Linked DNA regions of Homo sapiens: region 2 is linked to region 1. The links are contacts of gene promoters, found by promoter capture Hi-C in human tissues and cell types (Jung and others, 2019). All regions are on one chromosome and are shown on one strand. The core of a region is centred on a gene start or on the middle of the fragment in contact, and the rest is flanking DNA. Distances in the headings are between cores, read along the strand shown. Region 1 holds the start of TTLL2 (tubulin tyrosine ligase like 2). Region 2 overlaps LOC124901462 (a long non-coding RNA gene).

Region 1 (4,328 bases), core at 601-3,100:
TTTTTCCTGGGTACATCCTTAACCTTGGCACATAAACTTCTTAAATGATTGAGACTTGCGGTGGTCATTTTCTTTGATTTACATTGTCTACCAGGGGTGTCCAGTCTTTTGGCTGCCCTGGGCCCATTGGAAGAAGAATTGTCTTGGGCCACACATAAAATACACTCACACTAACGACAGCTGATGAGCTAAAAACACAAAACAAAATCACAAAAAATTCATGATGTTTTAAGAAAGTTTACAAATTTGTGTTGGGCCACATTCAAAGCTCTCCTGGGTTGCATGAGACCCAAGGACTTCGGATTGGACAAGCTTGGTGTAGACATAGAAAATATCCCACCTTTATTGGGTAGGAACGCACAGTAGCTGCAGGCCTTGTGCGTGATTGTTCTAGGTCATTGAAGCCATTTGTGGAGATCAGTCACCCTCAAGCACTTGGCCTGTAAATGGTCCACATTCTGCTTGTCACCTTTCCTGATGCATAGTTGATAGCTGTGGCTTATAGTTTATATGGAATGTAGAATGCTTTTCACCCCAATTATAGATGAGACAGTCCCGTTTTTTGAGTTGACCAACTTAAAAAAACTTCCTACCTAAATGTTCTTTTGAATAAAAATTTGTATTGCTTGAAACACAGAATAATTATTTTATTATTAAACCAGAAATCATGCACTATTTTTTCTGTTAATTATCAGGAAAGTTCTGTTTTCTCAAGAAAGTTCTAAGGTCGCAGAGGTCAAAGATCAAGTCCCATGTGTACGCTCAGCCCCAAGACACCCAGAGTAGCCTCATTTCCAACAAACCCGGGGTAGACTGAGCTGCTTGAAACGCAAACGCCATCACTAGCCCAAGTTGGGAGAGCTGACTTTGCCTCTTTGAAGACTGGAGATGGGCAGGTGTGATCTCTTCCCTCATCATGACCTCTGCCTGCGGTGTGGAGGCTACAGGCCGGCAGGCACTCACGGCCTTGCACCCGTTCTCGGCCGCTGTTCGGCCTGTCACAGCCCGCTTCCCGCTCGCATGTGACAACAGGAGCCCAGTGCTTCAGCCCACCCTCCTCAGCCTCAAATGCCCCTAGAGCCCCTGAGTTTCTGCTGATGGAAGCCCACCTCTCCCAGGAAGCCCAGCATGAATGCCCACTCCTCCTTGAAGCCCTTCCTTTCTACACTGGGGGGATTTTCTTTTCCCCCGTGGGGTCCATACCACTTCACACTTATCCTATGGAAACAATTCTGCTCGGCCCTGAATTACAACCATGTGTGTTTCATAGATGATCCAGTTCCGTCTCATAACCCTAGCATCTGTCACAGTTCCCAGAGCACAGCGGCCATTCAATCGGCTTTGGTTGAATTCAGTTGAATTTCCTGTACCCACTATGGGATGCAGTTAACTTACACTCCCCTCCTTTGGTAACTTTAGTCTCAGGAATGGGTCTACTTCGTTCACTCTTATATAACTGGCACCTCAGCATGCAGGAGGCACTGGACACCATAGGAAATTTTTGGATTGAAAAGTACATGACTTCATACAATGCTGGACTGCTTTTCCCTTGAAGGAGTATGAAGGGCTGACTACAAATTGCCCCTCGGGGGTCCCAGTGCACACTCGCTGCTCCTAGTGACCCTGGCCCCTGTGCTCTCGGGAAGGGGCTGGTCCTGGAACAGAGGCATGATCGGGGCCACCCTCCCATCCTACGTGTCGCCTCCTACGCTTACCCCAGCGCCTGGCTTTGTGTGGAGGAACACAGGTCCCGCCCTCTCATTGGGCGCTGGTTCCGAGGGTGGCCTCTGTGGGTCTCTGTGCAGCAGCTGCAGCGCCAGCTGAAATGCGCGGAGGCTGGAGGGAGCACTGGTTGCTGATGATGCAGGGTCTGCTCTCCTCACAAAGGGGAAGCCAGTCATAGACTCAGGGTGGGGCCCAGACTGTCAGGACCCCTTAGGGACAGGGACCCAGGCTTCATCACACCTTCCTCCCTCCAAGCTTCAGAGTTCTCTCTCCGACCCAGTGGGCCTCCTGCCAGTCCCCATGCCTCAGGCCTCAGCGGCCAGCACACAGGGGGCAGGCCTTGTGGGCTGCCTGGCGGGGTGGCATCTGTTCTTGCCAGGTTCTCCTGTTGCTTCGCCTGCATGGAATCTTAATATTTAACGTGGGCTGGGTGCGGTGGCTCATGCCTGTAATCCCAGCACTTTGTGAGGCCAAGGCAGGCAGATTACAAGGTCAGGAGATGGAGATAATCGAGTTGAAATCCCGTCTCTACTAAAAAAAATACAAAAATTAGTTGGTCATGGTGGTGGGTGCCTGTAATCCCAGCTAATTGGGAAGCTGAGGCAGGAGAACTGCTTGAACCCAGGAGGTGGACATTGCAGTGAGCCATGATTGCGCCGCTGCACTCTAGCCGGGCGACAGAGCAAGACTCCATCTCAAAAAAAAAAAAAAAAAAAAAGTTATGTCTACACAAAAGCAGTTGAGATTCCAAAATGAATTACGTGTCTTTTTGTTTAAGCCATGTTTGTGTCAGAGATCCCAGTTGGACCCCTCCTTCCAGCTCAGGCTGTGTCCTCGCTAATCTAACGGCCTCCGGCCACCACCCCTGAGGTTCAGGACTGCAGGAACTGGAGAGGCCTTGCCAGGCGTCTCAGAGCCGTAGACTCTCTACCCTCGGCACATGTTGGCTCTGGCAAGTGGCTGCCTCTGTGGATGACAGTTGAATGCTTTATTGCCATCTATTCGATTACAGGCATTGCCACCGTCTTCCAGAAACAATCAATTGCTTCACGTAACTCTATAAAAACTGCACACCAAGCTGCTGAGGAGGTTGCCCAAGTTCTGTCAAGCACAGGGAAACATGGCTAATTTCCTTATCCACAAACCAAGAACAAAAGTCATTCATAAGATATAATCTGAAAGGCATTTTTCTTTTTCCATTTGACATGTTCATGCATTGTTAATTATTTATTGTTTTTCTCCCAGCACGTGGTGGGGTAAATTTTGTAAAAATGAAGTGAAATGAGGTTCTTCCACCAGGACTGTCTTCCTGAGCGTGCGAGGAAGGGTGGGTGGGTGGGGTTACTTTATCTGGGCTTCCTGCACTCCCAGGGAAGGCAATCCTGGCACAAGCAAGAGCACCTGGGCTCAGATCACTGGTGTGTCGATTTGTAAATCATGCATTTACTCAGCCATGTTTCATCTGTCCCTTCCATTGGAGATGTTACACCTGCACCTCCGAGACTTCGTGCTGACTCTCCACTTGGGTATCTGGCAGAAGAAGGGCAAAGCTATCAAGACTAGAGGAGACTCCTAGGGGCATTTTGGCAAGAAAAATATGCGGTGTGCATTTTTTATAAAAATGTATTTTTGTCTGAAGTGAGCACTAGAAGCAAACACATTTCCCCAAACCATTTGTTGTTCCCTTTGATTATTTCCCTGATTTCACATGGGGCTCACTCCTCTCCTTGGCTTCAGTTCTCCACCTAACTCCTGGTTACTGGATATGGAAAGGCTTGGAGATGGGCTTTGCACCTCCTAGGGACTGACCACACAGATTCTGGACTTTAACGTCAGAGACCCAACCCAGAGGAGCACTGGATCCCACCACAGTGTTGGTCCAGCGTCTCCTCCCGCCCTGGCTTCGTGCTGCAGTCAGCGTGCTTGGGGGCTCCCTATGTTCTGTTGTGTGGAACTCACAAATGCCCACTATTATGGCATAAATCTATCCCCCGCTTCCCACTGTTGGCACCAGAACACACTTATTTTACGCACCCTCCTGTGGAATCAAGAGGAGGTTAGATTCATTATGATGTTTACATCTATAATTTTGGCAAAGTGCAAGAAAACTCTGTACCAATACGTAGAATTTTCTCCATTTTATGACACCCCTATCCTATCCCTCCAGTGAGCATCAAGACTCTCATCCCAGGTGGTTGATGGAAGGAGAACCCCTTCTACCCTCTACTGAGCCTGAGGGAGAAAGACTGAAAAACAGCGTGGCTTAAGGGAATTCGGGGGGACTTCTGTGCCTCCCAAAGATCTTCCCAACCCGGTGGCCAAAGCCTAGACATTTTTCCAGTTAGCATTCCTCAAAAACCCCCCGACGAGCACAGTACCTGATTCACTGGGGGAGATAGTCAATATTAACTGAGAATGGACTTTTATTACCATCTTTACTTCAGTACTGTTTGAAGGACTATAATGAACATGATGCTTTCATAATAAATGTTAATGAAGACAGAGATACATCAAATTCAGTACATAAAACGAGCCTCCAGTTTTGGAAGCTGTTGCCTTGGGGGAAGTGGTGGTGTTGGGTCCCCAGGGTCTCGGCTGCTGCT
Region 2 (4,328 bases), core at 629-3,128, 130 kb after region 1:
TGTGGGGTGCATTCACAGCTGCTTGATGTGTTTCTGAAAAAAAGAAAAGCTGCCAAATTAAACTTAATTGATGAGTTTCCATTTCTTCTTTTTTTCATTGAGACGGAGTCTCCCTGTGTCACCCAGGCCGGAGTGCAGTGGTGTGATCTCAGCTCACTGCAACCTCCACCTCCCAGTTTCAAGCGATTTTCCTGCCTCAGCTTCTGGATAGCTGGGATTACAGGCACGCACCACCACACCTGGCTAATTTTTGTATTTTTAGTAGAGACAGGGTTTCACCATGTTGGCCAAGCTGGTCTCGAACTCCTGACCTCAAGTGATTTGCCCACCTCAGCCTCCCAAAGTGCTGGGATTACAAGCATGAGCCACCACACATGGCCTCCATTTGTTCTTTTAACATCCATTTGCTTCTTTGTGTGTGTGTGTGTGTATGTGTGTATATTTAGAGACAAGGCCTCGCTCTGTCACCCAGGCTGGAGTGCAATGGTGTGATCATGGCTCACTGCAGCCTCAGACTCAGAGCTCAAGTGATCCTCCTGCCTCAGCCTCCCTAGCTAGGACTATAAGAGCATGCCACGATGCCCAGCTAATATTTTATTTTTTGAAGGAATAGGGTCTTGGTATGTTTCCCAGGTGGTCTCTAACTCCTGGCCTCAAGAGACCCTCCCGCTGTGGCCTCCCAAAGCACCAGTATGTTTCCCAGGTGGTCTCTAACTCCTGGCCTCAAGAGACCCTCCCGCTGTGGCCTCCCAAAGCACCAGTATGTTTCCCAGGTGGTCTCTAACTCCTGGCCTCAAGAGACCCTCCCGCTGTGGCCTCCCAAAGCACCAGGATAACTAGTGTGAGCACCATGCCCAGCCCACAAACTGTATTTAAGCAAAATGAATACAGTGAAGAATCTGACAACTGAGGAAAAATTCTACCCCTTAAAATAATTTTTAGCACAAAATGGTAAAAGATTGTTTTCCGGTTGTATATTAATGGAACACCCTGCAGAAACTGGGGGCTCTTCTTTGGGTCAACAGCTGAGAGCAACTGAATTCACTCCCTGCCTGGTACATATCAATGCCTGACTCTTGGCTGATTTGTATGAATGTATAAGAACCATGCATGAGACACACAATTGCACCTGTAAAATGGAAGGAGTGGGAAACAATGGGACTTCTGTTTCACTCTGTTCTTGAAATATCAGCCGTAGGCAGAACTGTTGAACGTCTGATAAATATATCCAAGAACAGTAACAGAACTTAGAATTCCTGCTGGAAAATTAACTGATCAGAGACCTTCTACATGGACCAGCTGAGAGTCAAAGTTTTAGGTCTTTTAAACAAAAATAAAATACAGACCTATAAATACTTTTCTTTTTCAGAAGACTGGCGTTAATATTAATCAATCGCTCAGCATGGCCTTTGCAAACTAGCAAGTGTAATTTTTCTTTGTCGAATGTTTGCTGGAGGTCACTCAAGAAAACAAATGCTCTAGTGCCCACTTTGCTGCTATGTGCCCAGTCAGAGCCTAAATGACAGCTTGTGAAGGCAAAAATTCTAACAAGACACACAGCTGCACTGGCTGAAATATTAGGACAAAAAGAAAAAGGGTGGGAGCCAGGAATTCACAGGACAGTGTGTCTCAGCAGCTTCAAGGGCCCATCTGGAGGTCCGTTGTGTCACGGAGGAGCAGATACCCCACAGCGGCCTTGATTCTGCCCTTGCAATGGGGCAGATCAGACATCCCAGCCACACATCCACTACAAATACCGAGGAATGCTCAAGCAAATCACAAAATCCCTGGGAAATGAGCACCCAAGTTCATGGAAGGGGCTACAAATCCCAGAGGGTGCTGGAATGCAGACTCGAACCTGACCTGCGGCTGCCTTGGTGACCTCTGCAGTCTCCAGGAGGTTTGGTCCTTAGTCACTCTGCTGGGATAGGATGAAGGGCTTTGTCTGGGAACTTAAAGAGGACACTCTCTGAGGGTTAGAGGCCCAAAGAAAGAGGGAACTAGAAAATACCTCCCTGCCGGCAGATGGAGAGCACCAAGGAGTGTTGCTGTCTCTCTCTGAGCTCTTTCCAAAGAATGTGTTACTACAGGGTGACCCTCATTTACCCTTAGCAATTGCAGTTCTGCTACCTGTACCTGGGACACCTTAAACTAAGAAGCTAACATGAAGTGATCCCAGGCTGGTCGTGCCCTGGGACACCTGGCAGAAGCAAACACAAAGCTTTCTGGATACTATCTCCCAGACTGGGCCCCATAGGATCGCCACCAACACAGGCTGCCAGCACAAATATAAAATAGGTGAGGAAGCGCAACACCATGAGGAAATGCCAGAAGTATTGGAAGCAGAGACAAGCTAGCAGCAGCCAGTGTCACGCGGAGCTCCGAGACGGCAAGCGTGGTGCTACCAGAAACTGATGACAAGGCAAATGTTTGTAGAATATTTAAAAAATTAAAGTAGGAAATTAAAAATGAAAGAGAGAAAAAATTCTTGGTGGATTTGAAAAAGAACAAATGAAATCAATATAATCTTCAAAATTAAAGCTAAATGATATATTAAATAGCACATAATATTCAGCTGAAGAGAAAACTGAGAAACCAGAAAAATAATTTACCCAGATGATAACAAGAAAATATAATATGTGAAGAGGGAAAGACGCTAGAATGAGGTGGTGTAATGCAGCTATAATTGGAAGTACAGGAAGAGAAAGAATGGAGGAAAGGTAAGATTGGTAAAGATAATAGTTCTGAATTTCCCTGAACTTGATAGTGTTCCCAGATAAAATATAGGACACCAGTTAAATCTGAATTTTCACATAAACTACAAATGACTTTTTAGTGTATAAGTATGTCCCACATACTGCATGGTACATACTCATAACAAAAAAACATCATTTATTATTCACCTGAAATTCAAATTCAACTGGGCATCCTGCATTTTTATTTGCTAAATCTGGCAACCTAAGCTTCTGAAAGACACAGTGATTATATTTAAGATGCACAACAGGCTGGCCGCGGTGGCTCACACCTGTAATCCCAGCACTTTGGGAGGCCAAGGTAGACGGATCACCTGAGCCATCCTGGCTAATATGGTGAAACTCCGTCTCTACTGAAAATACAAAAAATTAGCCAGGCATGGTGGCACACACCTGTAATCCCAGCTACTTGGGAGGCTGAGGAAGGAGAATCACTTGAACCAGGGAGGAGGAAGTTGCAGTGAGCCGACGTCATGCCACTGCACTCCAGGATAGAGCAAGACTCCATCTCAAAAAAAAAAAAAAAAGCAAAACAAATCCCCAATACAATGAACAAAATTAAATCCATAACTAGACATATCATAATGTCACTGGAGACAGAAGAGTCCTTAAAAGCAGCAAGTAAAAAAAAAAATCACGTTCGAAGGAAGAAATTAGTCCACCATCAGATCCTCCAGCAGACACCGTGTGGGAGTGGAATAAAGTCCTCAACACGCTCAGAAAAATCACTGTCATTCCATTGCTCAATACTATCCAATGGCTTCTCCACAATGGTCTACACTGCCTGGTCCTGGCACTTTGACCTCATCTCCTGTACCCCTGCCACACCGGCCTCCTTGCTCTTCCTCAGACACACCACACACTTTTCACGGCTCTTTCTCACTCTAGAATGTTCTTCCTGACACGCACACAGCTCCCTCTCTCACATCACTCATGGATCCCTAAAATATCCCCCCTCAGTGAGGCCCTCCTCAACGGCATACAGATGGCCCCCTAGGGCAGCAGCCCAGCACTCTCCCTCCCTGCTTTCTACCCTCTTGTTTTTCTCTGTAGCTTTTCATAGAGACTGATTTTTATATTGATATTTATTTTTACCTGATTATTTTATGCTTCCCTCCAATAAAATGTCATGAAATAAGAACTTTTCACAAATTTGCTCACTGCTGGATCCCTAGCCCTAAAACAATGCCTGCCACAGGGTGGCCATGTAATAGCTATGGGATGAGGGGTCAGAAGGTGCATCAGGACGAACGACCACTCATGAACAAGGCAAAACAAAGGACATTTTCAGATGAGCCAAAAGGGCTGATTGCCCCCGTCTCCTCATGCTCGTCAAGTAGAAGGAAATTGTGCCAAGAAGAAAGGCCCAAAATATAAGAAAGAAGAGCCCCAAATTCTGCATAAATTTAGAAAGTTTAAAGTAAACACTGGTTACATAAACACCACGGTAATAATCATAACTAATACTGAGGGTGAAAATCAAGTTAGAGTAAAAATCCTGGCAGAAGCCAACACAATGGCGTGAAAGATTGGGGAGGGGAATTCGGACTAAAAGACTCTTGATTTGGTTGTAGA

Evidence for each region. Contacts are between HindIII fragments. The study calls those that stand out against the background at their distance.
Region 2: a contact is called between a fragment that was not itself captured here and the fragment with the promoter of TTLL2 in region 1, in 1 of the 25 tissues and cell types used here (mesenchymal stem cells).

Annotation. Positions count from the first base shown.
Region 1 is chr6:167,322,608-167,326,935 of GRCh38, reverse strand. TTLL2 (tubulin tyrosine ligase like 2) reads right to left here and starts at 1,850. Exons shown (of 3, transcript NM_031949.5): 1 at 1,716-1,850. The coding sequence starts at 1,762. RefSeq lists an enhancer at 1,810-2,311. The HindIII fragment of the contact is 5,612 bases long and covers 1-4,328 here.
Region 2 is chr6:167,189,336-167,193,663 of GRCh38, reverse strand. It overlaps LOC124901462 (a long non-coding RNA gene), which reads left to right. Exons shown (of 2, transcript XR_007059877.1): 2 at 1-81. It also overlaps the pseudogene TCP10L2. Among named protein-coding and RNA genes, the nearest start is that of GPR31, 34 kb to the right of the region's middle. The HindIII fragment of the contact is 7,121 bases long and covers 1-4,328 here.